Linked DNA regions of Homo sapiens: all the other regions are linked to region 7. Evidence: promoter capture Hi-C in 16 types of primary human blood cells and fetal thymus (Javierre and others, 2016). All regions are on one chromosome and are shown on one strand. Each heading gives the region's core, a stretch centred on a gene start or on the middle of the fragment in contact. The rest is flanking DNA. Distances are from core to core; before and after follow the strand shown. Region 1 has its middle 10 kb from the start of MIR613. Region 2 overlaps CDKN1B (cyclin dependent kinase inhibitor 1B). Region 3 has its middle 8.1 kb from the start of APOLD1. Region 4 overlaps ETV6 (ETS variant transcription factor 6). Region 5 has its middle 25 kb from the start of DDX47. Region 6 has its middle 21 kb from the start of MIR613. Region 7 holds the start of MANSC1 (MANSC domain containing 1).

Region 1 (2,760 bases), core at 248-2,747, 420 kb before region 7:
GGTTTAATTTGTAATATGCCTGTTATAGGTGAGAGAATGTTGGATACTTGTTTTCTTTTCTAACTTTGTTTAAAGTCTATTTTTAGTAGAATTCAGTCGGTTCACATTAAGCAATATGATGAAGCAAGGGGTGTATCTTCTAACACCCTGAAAGTTGGTCATTATTATTCTCCTTATTTGCTTTTATTAATTTAGTTTTGTTTGTTTGTTGTGTTTTTTTTTTTTTTTTTTTTTTTGAGACTGGGTCTCACCCTGTCACCCAAGCTGGAGTGCAGTGGCATGATCATAGCTCACTGTAACTTTGAACTCCTAGGCTCAAGCAATCCTCTCACCTCAGCCTCCTGGGTAGCTGGGACTGCAGGTGCACACCCCCACACCCAGCTAATTAAAGAAAGAAAATTTTGTAGTAATGAAGTCTCACTATGTTGCCTAAGCTGGTCATGAACTCCTGGTCTCAAGCAATCCTCTCGCCTTGGTCTCCAAAAGTGCTGGGATTACAGGCATAAGCCATTGTACCCAATCGTTTTTTAAAAAATGTAGTTTCTATGGTGAGTTTTCAACTCTATTTGCTCTTGAATTAGGTAAGAAAATGATTTTATGTAATCTATTTTCCTCTCCAAACTTGCTTTGTTAGACTATTTTTTAGAGCAGTTTTAGATTTGCAACAAAATTGAGTGGAACATACAGAGACACCCCGTGCTCCCTGCCCTCACACATGCATAACTTCTCCCATTATTGCCAGTGCCCACAGAGCAGTACCTATGTTACAATTCATGAACCTACATTGGCCCAAAGTCTGCAGTTTACATTAGGGTTCCTTATTGGTATTGTACGCTCTGTGGGTTTGAAAAATGTTTAATGACATGTATCCACCATTACTGTCTCATACAGAGTAGTTTACCTGCCCTGGAAATCCTCTGCACCTCGCCTGTTCATCCCTCCCTCCCTCCTAACCCCTGGCAACCACTGATCTTTGATCACTGTCTTCATAGTTTTATCTTTTCCAGAATGTCATTAGTTGGAATCACAGCATGTAGCCTTTTCAGATTGGCTTCTTTCATTTACAGACATGCACTTAAATTTCCTCCACATCTTTTCGTGACTTGATAGCTCATCTCTCTTTGGCACTGAATAATGTCCCATTGTCTGGATATGCCACCATTTATTCACTCAGCTACTGAAGAACATCTTGGTTGCTTCTGATGTTTGGCAATCACAAATAAAGCTGTGGTAAGCATCTGTGTGTAGCTTTTTGTGTGGACATAAGTTTTCAATTCCTTTGGGTAAATACCAAGGCACATGACTGCTGGATCTTATGACGAGAGTATGTTTAGTTTTGTAAGAAACTGCCAAACTGTCTTCCAAACTCATCATACCATTTCAAATTCCCACCAGAAATGAAGGAGAGTTTCTGCTGCTCCACATCCTCATCAGGGAATTTAGTATCGTCAGTTCTAGATTTTGGCCATTCTAATCAATATGTAATGGTACCTCATTGCTGTTGTGATTTGCATTCCCTGATGACATATGATTTGGGACGTCTTTTCATATATTTATTTACCACCAATATCTTCTTTGGTGAGGTGCCTGTTAAGGTCATTGGCCCATTTTTTGTTCAGGTTCCTTGTTTTCTTTCTTTTCTTTTCTTTACTTTTCTTTTCTTTCTTTTTTTTTTTTTTTTTTTTTTTTTTTTGGAGTTAGAGTCTCGCTGTGTCACCCAGGCCAGAGTGCAGCAGTGTGATCTTAGCTCACTGCAACCTCTGCCTTCTGGGTTCAAGCCATTCTCCTGCCTCAGCCTCCCGAGTAGCTGGGATTACAAGCACACACCACCATACCCAGATAATTTTTGTAGTTTTTGGTAGAGACGGGGTTTCACCATGTTGGCCAGGCTGGTCTCAAACTCCTGACCCAAAGTGATTCACCCTCTTCGGCCTCCCAAAGTGCTAGGATTACAGGTATGAGCCACCACACCCGTCCAGGTTCTTTTTCTTCTTATTGTTGAGTTTTAAGAGTTCTTTGTATATTTTGGATAACAGTCCTTTATCAAATATGTCTTTTGCAAATATTTTCTTCCAGTCTGTGGCTTGCCTTTTCATTCAATTCACAGTGTCTTTTGCAGAGTAACATTTTTTAATTTTAATAAAGTCCAGTTTACCAATTCTTTCTTTCATGGATTGTGCCTTTGATGTTGTATCTGAAAAGTAATCACCAAGTCCAGGGTCATCTAGATTTTTTTCCTGTTATCTTCTAGGAATTTTATAGTTTTATGTTTTACTCTTAGGTCTGTGACCCATTTTAGGTTGATTTTTGTGAAGAGTGTAAGATCTGTGTCTAGACTCATTTTTTTCTGCATGTGGATGTCAGGTTTCCAGCACCATTTGTTGAAAGACTATCTTTGCGCCATTGTCTTGCTTTTGCTCCTTTGTCAAAGGTCAATTGTCTATATTTATGTGGGTTCACTTTGGGGCTCTCCATTCTATTCTATCGGTCTGTTTTTCTAGTCTTTCACCAATACCACACTGTCTTGATTATTGTAGCTTTATAGGAAGTATTAAGTCGGGAAGAGGTTCATTGATTTTATTAATCATTTCAAAGAACCAGATTTTGATTTCCTATTTTTAATTTCATTGATTTCTCCTCTGATTTTTATAATCTTTTCTCCTACTTTTCATTTATTTATTTAACAGACACGGTCTGTCACCTAGGCTGGAGTACAGTGATGCAATCATAGCTCACTGTAACCTCAAACTCTTGGGTTCA
Region 2 (2,700 bases), core at 8-2,507, 370 kb before region 7:
TTGCCCCAAACTACCTGGAGTGATCACCATTCTGCTGAGTAATTAACTGGTAAATTCCAACTTTAAGAGAGACTGGGGAGGGCAGTGAGGATAGGTTTCTGTTGCTTTTTTAAAAAAGCCACATGCAGCTATCTAACAAACTTTAGATAGCTTGGGAGATCACCAGATCTCCCAAATGAGAATAAACTTCTTGTAAAAATAAATAGCAATTATCTTTAGCCAGTGTTCAAATTTTTGTGATTTTTTTAAATGAAGTATCAGCTGTCTCTGAAAGGGACATTACATCTTTAAAGAAAACAATTCAAACCCTTCCCCAAAATTGCTTCTCTTCATGCAAGTCAAATATTTATCTACTTGCTGTAAATCAAAGCAAGCTCTTCATACCCCGCTCCACGTCAGTTCCTCAGCCCCACCCTGCCCTCCCTTCCCCAAAGTTTATGTGCTACATAAAAGGTAAAAACTATATACACAGGTAGTACAATGAAGCAAATAAGGAAAAACCTAATTGCATAATGCTACATCCAACGCTTTTAGAGGCAGATCATTTAAGAGTGCCTAAAATTTTAGTGTTATTGTGTTGTTGTTTTTCAGTGCTTATACAGGATGTCCATTCCATGAAGTCAGCGATATGTATTTTTAAAATTTTCATGTATATCTTCCTTGCTTCATCAAGCAGTGATGTATCTGATAAACAAGGAAACATATTCTTAATTCTGCAAAAGAAAACAAAACGGAAGAATTAAAGGAAGAGCACTAGATTAACGTTACCAGTAGAGTACAGGAATTATTTTGTCACTATGTTAGCTTGGAAATACTTGATGGGGAAAAAAGTTTGATGACTATAGTCATCTCCACCTAACATTCTCTTAACTGGATTTTTTTTTCCTTTCCTCTGTGCTGTGTTCTTTGGTCTAGAGCAGTAGTTCTTAACAGTAGGCAATGTTGCCCCCGCCCCACAGGGAACATTTGGCAATGTCTGGAGACATTTTAGGTTGTCACACTGGGGGAGGAGGATACTGCTGGCATCTAGTGTGAGAGGCCAGGGATAATTCCAAACAATCTAAAACACACAGGACAGCCTCCTACAACAGAATTATTCGGCCCAAAATGTCATTAGTGCAGAGGCTGAGAAACCCTACTCTAAATAATCTAGGTCAAAGGCAAGTGGGAAATAAATAGGATAATTAGGAAACTGTAATACTTACGGGTAAAAATTTTCTAAATTTTTGAAAATTTTTAATTTTTTTTCTCCTGTGACAGATTAAACTTTCTAAATTTGAAAAATGATTGGGAATAAAAATTATAAAGGCCTTCCAGAGGAAAATTTTATTAACATCATTTTCAAAATATTCTAATTCCTGATTCATATGCAGAAAATACTCATGAATACTTTTGAATAGGTTCTTACTAATATTTCTAGTATTCTTTGAACTAGCAATATTACTAAATCCTACAAATGCCTCATTGCATGTCAGAACAGGGCCAGATCAAAATCCAGGTCTGATTCTCGTGGCTCATCTGATGAGCTAGGCCACAAGTCACAAACCAACAAGGGCTGCGCATGTTAAGGTTGCTTCAGGAAAATTTTCACCTAATTTTCCCACTTCATATGGTGCTGTAAAATGGAGGTTCTATAGTGCCGTTTTGTATAAGCGCTGAAAAAGATATGTGAAGTCACATATACAATTTAAAGACACAACAAACCTGAATCTCACCTTAATCCCTGTTATTTTAAAATTTTTATAACTGGGGATTTAAAAAGTTAACATCAATATTTTATCGCCTCATATGCTAAACTACGTGTGTGCTTTAGAAAATAAAGAGGTCACAGTCTTGGTCTAAAGGAAGCTAATAAACTATTAAAATATGTAGTTTATTATGAATAACCAACCCATGTTGGTTATCTGGGGACTGAATTATTCAAATTAGCTATTTACAGTGATCAGATTCTTGTGCATGGAAAAATCTCCACTTCCTTTGTGCTGGGCTGACCTACGGTCACCAGTCTTGATATTTACTACCCATTTCCCCTACAAATATCCAAATCACCCTGTTACGGCACAATTAGCATACACTGGCTGACGTGTTCCTGGATTGCTTACTGACAAGAGTTAATTTAACTTCTGCTTTGCAACTTCAGTGTTACCAGAAATTCTGTAGAAACTTTAGTAACTTTTTTATCTTTCCATTTGGTTTTTGCAAATACTGGTTCCTTCTCTCTCCAAACTTAGGAGACAACAGGGAAAGTGACAGTTTATTAAAATGTCAAAGAACACAACATACCATCCTATTCACATCTCTAATCCCTTGCATAACCAAAGATGAGCAATTTCTACCAAACATTCCCCCTCAAAATTGAAACTTAATCATGTATTTGCCATTTTTCCATGTATGGCTCAAAATCTGTTACCGACTCAAGCTGAACCTCTAGGAAATTAATTCTCATTAATTCGGACTGAGGGAGTACCCTAGTTCTTGTTCGGATGGGCAAAGAACCTATTGCTCCCAACACGTTTTAGTGGGACTCACAGGGAAACGACCTTCCTACCCGATGGGGCCTGGGTTACAAGTAGCTGCTCTGGTCAACAGTTTGAAGAGAAAGTATCTCTGGGCATAGAAACTCTGAGGAATTACCGTATCCCCAGCCTTCCCCATTGCTACTTTTTTGACCTCACGAAGTATAAACAAAACAAAACCCCA
Region 3 (2,950 bases), core at 232-2,731, 440 kb before region 7:
CCCGGCTACTTGGGAGGCTGAGGCAGGAGAATCACTTGAACCCGGGAAGTGGGGGTTGCAGTGAGCCGAGATCGCACCACTGCACTCCAGTCTGGTGACAGAGCGAGACTCCGTCTCAAAAAAAAAAAAAAAAAGAAAAGAAAAAGAATTGGGTATTCAGCAAAGTCAAATGCTACAGAGAAGTTAGAAAGAATTAAAATTAAATAACTGTGTTTGCTATGCAAAACCTCAGGGGACAATGTTAAATTCAAATCAACCACAAAGCATTATGATTTTGAATAGTTTATGATACCCAACATCTTATTCCTATTCATACCTATCTACTCACCCACATACCTCCAACACTTTTAGTCCATAAGCTACTAGACTGCAATTGAGTACACACCCCAACAGGAAGAAATTTGACAAGCAGGGTCAGTAGTAGTTTCAATGGAATGACCCCAAGAAGTTTCATTTTTTGAGGTTTTAAAATCAGATCTAGATAGGCCTGTTCGACCAGTAATTCCTTCATTCATGTCTGTGTCATCTCTACTGATAACTTCAGTTCCAGCGCATCTACAGTTAGCAAAAAGTTCTTATAAATCATGTCCTTCCTCTTCAGGTGTTTTGTTCACCAGAATTTTGCCATGTTTGGGAGATTTGGGGGAGCATCACAAAATATTATTCTGTAAATAGGCTTTGTTTTGTTTTGTTTGAGACAGAGTTTTGCTCTGTCGCCTAGGCTGGAGTGCAGTGGCGTGATCTCAGCTCACTGCAACCTCTGTCTTCTGAGTTCAAGCGATTCTCCTGCCTCAGTCTCCCGAGTAGCTGAGATTACAGGTGCCTGCCACCATGCCCAGCTAATTTTTGTATTTTTAGTAGAGACGGGGTTTCACCATGTTGGCCAGGCTAGTCTTGAACTCCTGACCTCAGTTGATCCTCCCACCTCAGCCTCCCAAAGTGCTGGGATTACAGGTGTGAGCCACTGTGCCCAGCCACCATAAAAACCCATACATAGGTTTTTATGATCAGAGCAAAAGTTTTATAACTTTCAAATCACACCCACACTGTTTATTATAAATACTAGTGACTTGCAAAGCTATATTTTATTTTTTTCTTATTGACTAGCCTACTGGCATAAGATTACTCATCCTAGATGAGACTGTTACTGCCAGGAGATGTTTTTATTTTTTTTGAGACAGGTTCTTGCTCTGTTCCCCAGGCTGGCTGGAGTGCAGTGGCCCAATCACGGTTCACTGCAACCTCGACCTCCTGGGCTTAAGTGATCCTCCCACCTCAACCTCCTGAGAAGCTGGGACTATAGGTGTGCAACACCACACTCAGCTCATTTAAAAATTATTTGTACAGATGAGGTCTCACCATGTTGCTCAGGCTGGTCTCTAACTCCTGGACTCAAGCAACCCACCTGCCTCGGCCTCCCAAGGTGCTAGGATTGGCTAGGCGCAGTGGCTCACACCTGTAATCCCAGAACTTTGGGAGGCTGAGATGGGCAGATCACCTGAGGCCAGGAGTTCAAAACCACCCTGGCCAACATGGCAAAACCCTGTCTCTACCAAAAATACAAAAATTAGCCAGGCATGGTGGTGGGCGCCTGTAATCCCAGCTACTCAGGATGCTGAGGTGGGAGAATCGCCTGAACCCGAGAGGCACAGGTTGCAGTGAGCTGAGGTCATGCCACTGTACTCCAGCCTGGGCGAAAAGAGCAAAACTCCGTCTAAAAAAAAAAAATCAGAAAAGCCAAGAGCATTGGATGGGCACAGCGGCTCATGCCTGTAATCCCAGCACTTTGGGAGGCCAAGGTGTGTGGATCACTTGAGGTCAGGAGTTCAAGACTAGCCTGGCCAACATGGTGAAACCCCATCTCTACTAAAAATACACACACACACAAAAATTAGCTGGGCATGGTGGTGGGCGCCTGTAATCCCAGCTACTCAGGAGGCTGAAGCAGGAGAATCGCTTGAACCCAGGAAGCGGAGGTTGCAGTGAGCTGAGATCATGCCACTGGACTCCAGCCTGGGTGACAGAGCAAGACTCCAAAAAAAAAAAAGGAAAAGAATAGCTAAGAGCATAACTCTGGAGTCAGGCTGCCAGAATTCAAATTCTGGGGCACCTCATGCTGGCAATGCAACCTCTCAAATTCCTTACTTTATCTAATAATATAGGGTAATTATAGTGTGCACACCATAAGATTTTTGTAAGGTAAATGAAATGATACAGGTCAAATCGTACTTAGAAGAGTATCTAGTGAGTTCTCAATAAATGTTAGCTATTGTTATTGTTAAATATCCCACATGTATGTTCAATATTATTGAAATGTCATTTTATTTAAGCACTGAAAAAAATATTGTTTTTAAATGATATTTTGAGAGTGCAGTTTTAATAAAAAGTGAGGGCAGAAAGAAATGTCTGCTTATCAACCGGGGAGCGTAGAAAAAGAAGTTTCGCCTAAAAGAAAGACTTTAGACATCACCCCTACCCTTTTTGTGTAGCTTCTCCCAGTTATAATTATTTTGGTGAATTTGGCAACCGTATTCACACAAATGCTGGAGGAGGCCAGGATCTGGCTGCTCCTGTGTGTAAGGGAGGCAGATGCCTTGGCCGTGACCCATGGCTAAAGCTCAGGGGGAATCAGGTCACAGGCCTGCCTGTCCTCCCACCTCTGGGGTTTTAGTGTAAATACAAAATTGGATTAAACATCATTTTCTGCAGATGTAGCTTCATATAGATAATCTCTATGCGTGCAGGCAAAGACCACATTAGAGGGCCTTCTCTCCACAACCCGGTGCTAATGCTAGTCAGGTTTGGGGGTGCTGAGGACCCCTAATGTGCATTCCTGGACGATGGGTCTCGCTTCATCAGCACGATTTCCCCTCTCCTAACAGCTCTCTGGTTGCTAAGAGATTGTTTTCAGATCTAAGGGCTCACTCTTTGTCCTATTCCAGACCACAGC
Region 4 (2,700 bases), core at 141-2,640, 470 kb after region 7:
TGTATTATCTGTGTTTAAACATTAATGTGGTGTGTCACTCATTGTGTTTTGGAAAAGGACAAGTGGCCTCCTTCTTAAAACAACAACACCATAGTCCTGGACTTTGAACCCCATTCTAACAACAGAAGCTGTCCAGCCACTTCTATTGCCCACCCCGTCTTGCCATGGCTGCATTCTGTATTGCCAGGGGATGGGCTGAGGTGGGGGTGTGGAGAAGATGAGCAACCCAAGCATCTTAAGTACCTTGAGAAATCAGTGTCCTACTGCAGACTGAGAATAATCTAGCTCGTTTTACAGGCATTTGAAGGAGGATGATTCTAGTTTCTAAGCAAAGCAGTAAAAAGTGGCAAAGTGTCTTTTTCCCTTGTAAGCATCTCCTTGTCTTGAATTACTTTCTCTATAAAGGGAAAATAGAGATCTGCTGTGGTCTGAATCTTCATGTCCTCCCCAAATTCATCTGTTGAAATCCTAACTAACTACCAAGGTACCTTTGGGAGGTGATTAGGTCTTGGGGGCCCCACCCCTGTGAGTGGGATTAGTGCCCTTTTAAAAGAGGCCTGAGAGAGACCCCTCACCCTTCCACCAAGTGAAGACACAGCAAGAAGGTGCTGTCTATGAACCAGAAAGTGGGCCCTCACCAGATGCCTCATCTGCCAGGGCCTTGATCTCCCCAGCCCCCAGAACTGTGGAGCAATCCGTATCTATTGCGTACCAACTACCCAGTCTACGGCAGTTTGTCAGAGCAGCCCCAAAAGGACTAAGGCCAGAACTCAGCTGTGGCTTAATATTTCAGTATTTGTCCTACTATCAAATGGCAGACACATTTTAATTTTCCATAATCTCTTCCAACTGGAAAACATCTGACAAAATCACATATTATCACATACAGTGCCTGTAAATTAGGGTTGGGTGTGGTGGCTTATAATTATAATCCCAATGTTTGTTTTGGGAGGCAGGGGCAGTAGACTTGCTTGAAAGTCCGGGAGTTCAAGACCAGCCCAGGCAACATAACGAGACCTCATCTCTACAAAAAATTTAAAAATTATCCAGGCGTGGTGGTGCATGCCTGTAATCCCAGCTAGTTGGGAGGCTGAGGTGGGAGAATTGCTTGAGCCCAGGGGTTTGGGGCTGCAGTGAGCCATGATCAACCCACTGCACTCAGCCTGGGCGATAGAGTGACAGAGTGAGACTGTATCTCTAGGGGGAAAAGAAGCCAGTAAATCAGGACGAACGAAAGTAGTTTGTGTGCAGCCCCTCCTATGTCTCCCTATAGGTTTACAATCATTTCCATTGCAAATAGGCTGACGACGCCATTGGATTCCTCTGGATTGGGAATGTGATTTTCTAGTGTGTTCATTTTAATAAATTTCAGCAATTAAGAAACGACCTGGTTGTCTTTTACAGTTTCATATAAAGACATTTTGCCCATATGAAGGTGGGTGACATCATGGCAGCCCTCTTGACTCTAGGCGGAAGGCACTCCACTCAGAAGCCTACTGTAGAGCAAAAAGAAAGCGGACAGTTCTCTAACCACAAGCATGGGCGTTTTCACTGCATGTTTCTGTTGCTTCTCTTTTACTGTAATGGTACATTCTACTTCTCATAAAACAGTGAAACGTGAACCAGACCATTTCTCCAATGTAAGGGCTTAACCTGCACTGGGCTGCCATGTTGGTTTTTCGGAGGCATCAAACTAGGACCTAGAATGTTATCTACTTATCAGATGGCAAAAGGAAGGGCAGGGCTTACCAGAGAACACCGTTTCCCTATCAGCTTCAAGAACATTTGTATCCGGCAAACTTTTCCTTTCATAAATGTGAAAACAACCCCAAACAAGCTGCCAATTGATCATTTTAAATGACATTTAATCCAGCAAAGCCAACTTTAGCTGAGTAATAAAAATACGTTGACATTCAGGACATATTGAATTAGTCACTAACGGAGACAGCAATAGGAATTTTGTGGCATAAAGCAGTTGTTTCAAGCTCAGAGTATAAGTGGCTTTTATAACATTATTGATTGTTTTGTTTCTTTGGTAAAAATTATGCCTAGATGATAAAAATAACTGCCTGACCACACAATAGATTTTTTTTCCTTTTTTTTTTTTTTTTTTTAAACAATTGACATTCAAGCCATGTCAGTTATTTTTGTTTCTAAGATTTCTATTAAATAAAAGGCAGATCCTCTTTAGGTTCCTAGATCCTTTAGAGGTTGTTGCCACGGCTCACCTGGAATTTTTCAGCCTTTTCGGAACCCATGCCTGCACAGATACAATGTTCTTTGATCATCAATGTAAATGCATAATACTATATAATAAAGCGCAACACACTCTATAAATAGAAGTTCACTCCACTTCAAAACACCTGAACGTATATGTATAAAATGTTTTTGGATCACAAGGTATTCATTAATTTTAAGTGCATTTTTCTTAAACGAAAGGGCTTTCTTCTATCTCAAGGCACATGGATATTTTAAAGAAATTTCCACTATTTGGATTTTCTTTTCCATGAGAAGTAGTTTATGAAAGTGTTTAGCCCAAGTATAGTTCCCTCTCCTTCCTGCTGGGTGAGGTACCCTCGGTATCCGCAGCTAAAGGCATTGTAAAAAATCCCTTCCTGTGGTTAAGGAGAAATATTTTCACTCCCACGTCTGTCTCTTACCAGAGACTCATTGTATAAACTTATTGAGCAGAGATTGTAA
Region 5 (2,906 bases), core at 394-2,893, 490 kb before region 7:
CCCACACGCCGCACTGACAATAGACCCTAGTGCCTGGTTAGGGGCATCACTGGCATTTATTAGGAAAATGAGTTAGGCTAGCCAGCCTTCTCTAAAGCATACTTCTGTCGCCTAACTACTCCCACTACTCTTCTCTTTTTTTTGAGATGGAGTCTCACTCTGTTGCCCAGCCTGGAGTGCAGCGGCATGATCTCGGTTCACTGCAACCTCCACCTCCTGGGTTCAAGTGATTCTTCTGCCTCAGTCTCCCGAGTAGTGGGATTAGCAGGCACGAGCCACCACACCCAGCTAATTTTTGTATTGTTAGTAGAGACGGGGTTTCACCATGTTGGCCATGCAGGTCTCGAATTCCTGACCTCAAATGATCTGCCCACCTCGGCCTCCCAAAGTGCTGGGATTATAGGCATGAGCCACTGCACCCAGCCCCCACTACTCTACTCAAAAAGGAGCCTTCAGTCTTCAAGACTGAAAAGCAGGGCCTGTTTTTTCTCAGGCAGATATTATGAACAAAATTCCACTGAACTTTTTTTTTAATTGAGGGAGTCTTTAGTGTCTGTCTTAAATGGCTAAGAGCTTGTGGGCACACTCTAAAACATATACAAACCTGTAAACATACACATACTTCCTTTAAGTATCTTCAAAGGAAAAATGAACAGATTCTGGTGATCACCAACATCCTCTCTGTCTTCACATGCTGATTTTATGTGAGGTTTCACGTGAATCTTCTGGCAGTCCAAAGGTCACTTTTATTTTCTGGAGATTTAGTAAAAAACACAAAACTATGGTGCTCAATTTCATTTTGTCAGCATAGGCTCACCCTGCAAAATTCCTGAATACCCTTGGATGAATTTAAGAAATCACGGAAGACAGAATAAAGAATAACTACGCTGCGCCGGGTGTGGTGGCTCACGCCTGTAATCCCAGCACTTTGGGAGGCCAAGGCAGGCGGATCGCCTGAGGTCGGGAGTTTGAGACCAGCCTGACCAACATGGAGAAAACCCGTGTCTACTAAAAATACAAAATTAGCCGGGCATGGTGGTGCATGCCTGTAATCCCAGCTACTTGGGAGGCTAAGGCAGGAGAATCCCTTGATCCTGGGAGGCAGAGGTTGCGGTGAGCCAAGATCACGTCATTGCACTCCAGCCTGGGCAACAAGAGCAAAACTCTGTCTCAAAAAAAAAAAAAAAAAAAAAGACTAGGCTGCAGTTTTAAAATATGACAAACAAGCTTTTCTGATCTGCAGTTTCCTCGAGAAATGACTCATGACCTCCAGTAAAAGAAATAATATATGCCAGTCACCTGGCAAACTCCTAACACACAGGAGGCTCTCCTCAGCCCTATTGTAAAGAATCACTTATTTACTATTTACCTTTTAGAGACAGGGTCTTACCCTGTCACCCAGGCTAGAACGCAGCAGCACAATCATAGCTTACTGCAATCTCATCCTCCAAGACTCAAATGATTGTCTTGTCTCAGCCTCCCAAGTAGCTAGGACCATAGGCGGGGTCCGCCATGCCCAGCTAATTTTTTATTATTTTTGTAGAGATGGGGTTCTGCTGTGTTACCCAGGCTGGTCTCAAACTCCTGGCCTCAAGCAATCCTCCCACCTTGGCCTCCCAAAGTGCTGGGATTATAGGCATGAGCCACCATGCCCTGTCCAAGAATCACTTATTTAAAACCAAACCAACAACCATTACAAATGTACAAATAGACGTATGTCAAATAAGAAATCTTTGGATAGTCCCCACTCTTGACCCACCCAGAAATCGCGACAGGGATGTTGGTTTTAAGTTGGCACTGGATTTAATAGCTTGGGTAAGAGAGTTTCTAAGATATCAGGAGTTACCAGTGGACTCCTCCCCCAAAAGAATGTGTGAGGACAAGAGCCAGCATCACATCAGTGAGAGCTGGCCCAGTATAAATGACCACCATGCTTGATTGCTGCTACTACTCTTTTGGACCCAGAAGGACAACTCCCCATCACTTTGGGCTGAAGGACATGTCTCTAGGATAAAATGAACGAACAAGCAGCTCACAGGTTACCCAGCACCAAGCTTATTTGATACAGGAGCACGGGCTGTGGACCAAGCCTACTGGATGGATACGCAGTGAGGAGAGAGGGAAGCAGTGAGGGGGGTCGGTGGCTCACAAACAACGTGTATTGGGATAGGCGGGGGAAAGAGTATTCCTGACTTACAGACTGGGGTAGGGGGTGGGGAAAGGAGCAAACAAAGCAAGTGGCTTCATCAACATCCCAGAGGGAAAGGCAGGCTTTGGAAAAGAACCAAGTGTTTGGAAGTTGACGAGGAGGGTCCACAGCCAGGGACCGCGCAGTAGAGACGACAGAGGAACGCGACCTTTTTTTCTAAGTGCATCTGAACTTGCCTTTACTTCGGGGCTCCCAGTCCCCATCCTCTGGGTCAACCTAGCAGATCTTCTTGAAGGCTGACACCCTTCACATACCTGTAGGTAGTTCTCCTCCCCACCCTGACCCCTGACCCCTAGTTCCAGTGGGACTGTCCTCCACTGTAGTCATACAAGGAGTCTGCCTCATCTGCCCCTGTGCCTCAGCCACAGCCCACTGTGAATCACTCGGCTCCAAATTAAAACTCCTTCCCTCTCCGGAGTGGTCTTTTCTTCCTTCTGCCATCTACTGGTGAAAACAAGAATGTCTTATTTTCTTACCTGCCTGTTGCCAATTTGAAAATAGCTTGGAACCTGAAAGTTCATTTGCATAGTACTTACTTGTTGTGTGGAACATACTGCATGAGTAATATGGAATTACACATATATACATACACACACACACACACATAACAAACAGTGTATTTAGTGTAAAGGGCAGAGGCTTGGAATCCAATTTGGCTTCAAATTTTTACTTAGCCCTTTACCAGCTGTATGATCTG
Region 6 (2,967 bases), core at 1-2,500, 390 kb before region 7:
CGCCCGGCCTTCTTCAGTCTTCTCCTTGTAAAATTCTCTTTCAAATATCTCCTCATTTTGTGTTGGGTAGAGCAATTTGGTCTTCTCTCTGCCTTTTAATTCTCCTCACAGCCAATCACCCTGCTTAATTCAACAAAGGCCCTCTAGGGAGATGAGTACACAAAGCATTCACTTTTTTTAGACAGGAAGGGAGGTATTGCCAGTACATTATTTTAATACATTTTTCCCTCTAACACACAGGCATAAAACAATAAATTCAAAGCAGGCCAGAAGTAGAGAGAAGAAAAAGCTTTGTCAGGGTGAAGCAAGTATGGGATCCAGGTAGGCACAAGTTCATAGTGATATTTGGTGAAGGGAAAGCAGATCGTGGCACAGGGATCTTGTTCTGTGATCTGCCCCATGAAGTCGGGCAGACAGACACTCTACATAAAACAGGTTCAGAATGAGGCCAAATCACCTGGCAAGAGGAGGCCAGGAGCCAGACAGACACTGAGCACAGGCAACAGGAAAGCAGCTTAATAGGCAATAAACCAAGTTCTAAGGCAGAGCACCCCGGAAATTTATAGTCAGGATCAGAACTGATCCCAGCGGCAGTGTCCAATTCCCATCTCTTAAGTGGACAAATAAATCACCTGCCTAGAGTTGAGAGCTGAGAAATCAGAAACCAAGCAGTTCTTTGTTTTTTGATATGGAGTGCAGTGGTGCGATCTCTGTTCACTGCAACCTCCGCCTCCCAGGTTCAAGCGATTCTCCTGCCTCAGCCTCCTGAGTAGCTGGGATTACAGGTGTGCACCACCAGGCCCAGTTAATTTTTGTAATTTTAGTAGAGATGGGGTTTCACCATGTTAGCCAGGCTGGTCTCGAACTCCTGACCTCAGGTGATCTGCCCACCTCAGCCGCCCACAGTGCTGGGATTACAGACCTGAGCCACCACAGCCAGCCATTTTTTTTTTTTTTTTTTAAGCAGGGTCTGGCTCTATTGCCCAGGCTGGAGTACAGTGGTGCCATCATAGCTCACTGCAGCCTTGATCTCCTAGGCTCAAGTGATCCTCCTGCCTCAGCCTCCCGAGTAGCTGGGACTACAGGTGCACACCGTTCCTTGCTAATTTTTTATTAGTAGAAACGCAGTCTTGCTATGTTCCCCAGGCTGGTCTCAAACTCCTGACCTCAAGTGATCCACCAGCCTCAGCCTCCCAAAGTGTTGGGATTACAGGCATGAGCCACCACGCCCAGCCATCATCAATTTAATATCTTGCAGTACTGTGTGCTAGAAGTCTAACATGGGTCTCACTGGGCTAAAAGCAAGGTGCCAGCAAGGCTGCATTTGTTTCTGGAGGCTCTGGGGGAGAATCCTTTACCTTGCCTCTTCCAGCTTCTGGAGGCTGCTGCATTCCTGGGCTCCTAGCCCCTTTCCTCCATCCTCGAAGCCAGCAACAGCAAGCTAAGCCCTCACGTCACACCACTCTGAATCCCTCTTCTGCTTTCCTCTTCCAAGATTCAGGACCCTTGTGATTACATTGGGTCCACCTGGATAATCCAAGATACTCTCCCAATTTTATAGTCAGCAAATCAGCAAACAATTCCATTTGCAACCTTAATCCCCCCTTTGCCATATAACATACCATATTAATAGGCTCTGGGGATTAGGATGTGTATCTCTTTGGAGGGGGGCATTCTTGTGCCTCCCACAGAGTGAGAAGTGCTGTGGAGAAAACAAAGCAGGGACAAGGGAAAGGGAGCAACCACTCTTCCATAGTCACCTATTCCTCTGACCACAGATGGAAAGGCCCTCTGCTTTTGCTTTTAAGGATTTATTTTGTTAGATTGGGCTCACCTGGATAATCCAAACCGCTCTCCTCATCTCAAGGTGCTTAACATTAATCACACCTGTTTTTTTTTTTAAAGATGGGGTCTCACTATGTTGCCCACGCTGGCATCAGTGATTGACTGGGCTCAAGAGATTCTCCATCTCAGCCTCGTTAGTAGCTAGGAATACAAGTGTGTGACACCATACTGGGCTCCAAAGGAGTTCTTTGATTGCACAAATAAAATGACCTTTTAATGAGATCCCTCACTCAATACATTAGCAAACAACACTTGGCTCTTATCTACCTACACCTACCTCCAAAGTAAGCTGGGTCTCCCCTTTCAGGCAAATGATATAGGAAGTGGGAAACCAGCTCAACCAAGATTAACGAAGATAAAGCTTTTGACCATGGCGGGGCGCGGTGGCTCACGCCTGTAATCCCAACACTTTGGGAGGCCAAGGCGGGAGGATCACTTGAGCCCAAGAGTTTGAGACCAGGGCAGCATGCCAAAACCTTATCTCTACAAAAAATTAGCCAGGGTGGTGTCACATGCCTGTAGTTCCAGCTACTCAGAAGGCTGACGTGAGAGGATCATTTGAGCCCTGGATGTCAAGGCTGCAGTAAGCCGAGATCATGCCACTGCACTCCAGCCTGGGTGACAGAGTGAGACCCTGACCAGGGCCTTTTTTTTTTTTTTTAGATGGAGTCTTGCTCTGTCGCCCAGGCTGGAGTGCAGTGGCGCGATCTCAGCTCACTGGAACCTCCGCCTCCCAGGTTCAAGCAATTCTCTGCCTCAGCCTCCTGAGTAGCTGGGATCACAGGCACCTGCCACCACACCCAGCTAATTTTTGAATTTTTAGTAGAGATAGGGTTTCACCATCTTGGCCAGGCTGGTCTTGAACTCCTGACCTTGTGATCCACCCACCTCGGCCTCCCAAAGTGCTGGGATTACAGGCGTGAGCCACCGTGCCCGGCCGACCAGGGCCCTCTTATCTACCTTGGAAGAAGGTGGCCTTTGAGAAATGCCTGAATCGATATGGAGGTGAGCATCAAAGGAGGCTTAGAGGCAAAGCTCATTTTAAAACTTTTCCCTTGGGCCTTCCGTGCTTTTCTTACCATGGACATCTTTTGTCCTTTGCAAGGGGGCTTCTCGACCCTA
Region 7 (2,923 bases), core at 218-2,717:
GCTATAACCCGGGAGGTGGAGGTTGCAGTGAGCCGAGATCACACCACTGCACTCCAGCCTGGGCAACACAGCGAGACTCCGTCTCTAAAAACAAACAAAACACAAAACAAAACAAAAAAAGAAACAGGTTCATTGTATTAAAGCACCGAATACGAAGTTTCTAATAATGGAAAGGTCTACTTTGTAACTAGCATGGATTACCCCATGTAGAGAGATTCAAAAACTGTGATAGCTCTACACCCTGAACCCTGAAGTGTATCAGATGATAAAAGATAAAACACACTTGCAGATCAGTCCCTTGTTGCATCAGGAAAATCACTGCAATGGGAAATTACTCTGGTGTTTACTTTTCTTTGGTAACTCTTTCAAACCTAGCTTTAGCAACATTGTAATTCAAGAGTCATCCTTTGGTTACAAGTAGAGTTAGTTTCACACAATGGACCTTTGTTCACAAGCATTCTCAGTCAACCTAATCCTCCTGTAGTTATTGGTTAAGACTAGGGTGTGTAGCTGTTGGCCGTACAGGCCTAGACTTAACTTGCAATTGCATAGCGCTTCAGGTCTGCAAGCTCTTTCAAAACAGAGGTGAAGATACTGTCAAAGGTTAGACCATATGGCAAACTAAGTGTCAATGGTTTAGTAACGTTGCATTTGTGTGTGTGTTTATGGAGGTGGGGATGGGGCCAGCAGTAATTTAGAAACTTCCACAACCTATGCCCTATGCAGTTCTTTTCCATTCATTCAGTCAACAAAAATATTTTAGTTAAATATTTACTGAGCACCTATTGTGTACCAGGCACTATGCTAAGTGTTAGGGATACAGTTTTAATATATGTTACAGACACCAGCATTTTCACCATTATTATCCTATCTACAAACAATAAATCCCGCAGAAAGCCAAATACCTTCCCTGAAGTTTGTCTTGCAGATAATATTTAACTCAAGAATTGCCATCTTTAATTGAGGACTCCATCCTCCAATTATGGAAAGAGGATTCTCAGAACTATGCCCCCAATAGGATGCACTATAAGCCCTTGAACATCAAAAAACTGCTCTCAGTGGTTGCCTCTGAGGAGGGAGACTAGGAGACTGGGGCACGGGGGTGAGGGGTAGACTTGTCTCTGTGTCTATTTTTGTACTGTTTGACATTTTCCCCATGTGCATTTATTTTAACTTGCGCGGGCCGCGAGGCAAGGCTCACCTGCAGACCCTCGGGCCACCAGCAGGGAGGCACGCACTCCCCCTCGCAGCGCGCCCAGCCCGGGGTCAGCGGTGTGGCTGAGCTGGGGGGGAGCGCGGGGCGGTGGGGGGAGCCACCTCCCTGCGGGGCTCAGCGCTGGGGCCGGGAGCCCGGAGCCTCCGCGGGGAGGGACGCGCTAATGTTGCCGGGAAGCAGCTCCGGGTTGCAGGGCAGGAACGTGCCCTTCCCCCGCGGCAAACTTGCCGTCGCTGCGACGGAAGCAGGAACTTGCTAACCACAAAACCCGCCAGGCCGGTGCGGGAGCTGCGGAGCATCCGCTGCGGTCCTCGCCGAGACCCCCGCGCGGATTCGCCGGTCCTTCCCGCGGGCGCGACAGAGCTGTCCTCGCACCTGGATGGCAGCAGGGGCGCCGGGGTCCTCTCGACGCCAGGTAAAGGGGTCTCCCCAATACCCACCCCCGACCGGCCGCAGGCGACGTCGCTACCTGCGGAGAGAGTCGGTCCCCTCCTTTCCAGGGGCCGAGGCTCCTTCACCCACACCCGAGCATCCAAAGGACCAGCTGGGGCCAATAAGGGCTGACCAGGATCCTTGAGTCGCTGCAGTATTCCAAAGGGGACCTCTAGGCGGGCTCAAGGCACCTGCCATAAATGGCTCTGGCTCTGCGTTGACATCAGAAGGAGAGGCAGAAGAATAGCTCAGTAGGCAACATGCATTTCCTCAAAGGAAGAGAAAATGTTCCCTGTTTTCTTGTCGTTGACTCTGTATTCATTATTGAAACTGCTAATTGTCTAATTCTCTGTAGAGTGTGTGTGTGTATACAGTTATAAGCATCTTGGTAAATTATAGTGTGCTGTAAGACGATTTCCAATATTTGAACTAATTACGTGCGAGTAAGTTTTAGCGACTCTTGTATGCAGACGTTAAAACTCAGGGGCATCCTCTCTCACCCGCCTGTATCCTTTTACCCCGTCTTTCAACAAGATTCAACTCGACTTCAGGCCCTTAAAGCCTAAATAATAATGGATTAGAAAACGTCGCTAACCTAATATTGCTGAGCCTCTTTAATGATATAAAACTCTTAAACACTTCTCTCAATGCTGCATACTGAAAACAACTCCTGCCCCATCTCCTTACATAGTTCAGGTTTCTTTGCAAAAGCTTGAAAAGAGGCTACATTAGAATCCATTCAAAATAAAGTATTGGCCTGGTTTTCTCTTGATTCCCTAGAGGCTTGCAAAATATGGCAGCGTATTAAGTACCTTGGCCAGAATTATTAACCTGGGGAGTCCACGATAAGGTATCCATGGATAGAATTCAGGATGTCTGTGAACTTGAGTGGAAAAAATTATTATTTCACCGACTTCTGAAATGGAATGTAGGCAAAAGCCACAGTAGTATTAGCAGTAGCTATGATTTGCCCCCTGTAAATATTGCCGATATCTTTATATCACATGACTTGTTGCACGTTTCAAAATATTATCTATACTCAATACCACGTCAAAATTATGGCAGTTATTAGATGACCACTTGTTACTTAATAGGTTAATAAAGAAGCACATATTATGTCCCACAACTTTTTGTAAGTTTTAACTAAAATGAGGATAATAATGGGATCTGTAAAGATTAAATGACATGATATATATAAAGTGCTTAGCATAGAAACTGGCATTTTAGACGCAATAAATGTTACTATTTTACTGTATACAGAATTTTGACAAACAG

What was found. Contacts are between HindIII fragments. The CHiCAGO score rates a contact against its expected background, and 5 or more counts as called.
Region 1: a contact is called between a fragment that was not itself captured here and the fragment with the promoter of MANSC1 in region 7, in 5 of 17 cell types (naive B cells, activated CD4 T cells, non-activated CD4 T cells and 2 more). The highest score is 6.1, in naive B cells.
Region 2: a fragment that was not itself captured here is called in contact with the fragment with the promoter of MANSC1 in region 7 in 15 of 17 cell types (neutrophils, erythroblasts, activated CD4 T cells and 12 more); the score reaches 12.8 in neutrophils.
Region 3: a fragment that was not itself captured here is called in contact with the fragment with the promoter of MANSC1 in region 7 in 1 of 17 cell types (activated CD4 T cells); the score reaches 6.6 in activated CD4 T cells.
Region 4: a contact is called between a fragment that was not itself captured here and the fragment with the promoter of MANSC1 in region 7, in 1 of 17 cell types (M1 macrophages). The highest score is 5.4, in M1 macrophages.
Region 5: a fragment that was not itself captured here is called in contact with the fragment with the promoter of MANSC1 in region 7 in 1 of 17 cell types (activated CD4 T cells); the score reaches 5.3 in activated CD4 T cells.
Region 6: a contact is called between a fragment that was not itself captured here and the fragment with the promoter of MANSC1 in region 7, in 16 of 17 cell types (total CD4 T cells, naive CD8 T cells, total B cells and 13 more). The highest score is 15.1, in total CD4 T cells.

The regions. Positions count from the first base shown.
Region 1 is chr12:12,773,480-12,776,239 of GRCh38, reverse strand. It overlaps a transcript of APOLD1 not described here. Among named protein-coding and RNA genes, the nearest start is that of MIR613, 10 kb to the right of the region's middle. The HindIII fragment of the contact is 3,048 bases long and covers 1-2,760 here.
Region 2 is chr12:12,719,049-12,721,748 of GRCh38, reverse strand. It overlaps CDKN1B (cyclin dependent kinase inhibitor 1B), which reads right to left. Exons shown (of 3, transcript NM_004064.5): 3 at 1-713. Among named protein-coding and RNA genes, the nearest start is that of CDKN1B, 3.0 kb to the right of the region's middle. RefSeq lists enhancers at 2,128-2,177, 2,248-2,327. The HindIII fragment of the contact is 2,899 bases long and covers 1-2,700 here.
Region 3 is chr12:12,792,313-12,795,262 of GRCh38, reverse strand. No RefSeq gene overlaps it. Among named protein-coding and RNA genes, the nearest start is that of APOLD1, 8.1 kb to the right of the region's middle. The HindIII fragment of the contact is 8,759 bases long and covers 1-2,950 here.
Region 4 is chr12:11,879,447-11,882,146 of GRCh38, reverse strand. The region is part of intron 5 of ETV6 (ETS variant transcription factor 6); the gene reads right to left. Among named protein-coding and RNA genes, the nearest start is that of BCL2L14, 190 kb to the left of the region's middle. The HindIII fragment of the contact is 2,928 bases long and covers 1-2,700 here.
Region 5 is chr12:12,836,921-12,839,826 of GRCh38, reverse strand. No RefSeq gene overlaps it. Among named protein-coding and RNA genes, the nearest start is that of DDX47, 25 kb to the right of the region's middle. The HindIII fragment of the contact is 827 bases long and covers 1,230-2,056 here.
Region 6 is chr12:12,742,302-12,745,268 of GRCh38, reverse strand. It overlaps a transcript of APOLD1 not described here. Among named protein-coding and RNA genes, the nearest start is that of MIR613, 21 kb to the left of the region's middle. The HindIII fragment of the contact is 1,917 bases long and covers 292-2,208 here.
Region 7 is chr12:12,348,786-12,351,708 of GRCh38, reverse strand. It overlaps MANSC1 (MANSC domain containing 1), which reads left to right and starts at 1,467. Exons shown (of 4, transcript NM_018050.4): 1 at 1,467-1,631. RefSeq lists a silencer at 1,157-1,466. The HindIII fragment of the contact is 5,175 bases long and covers 1-2,361 here.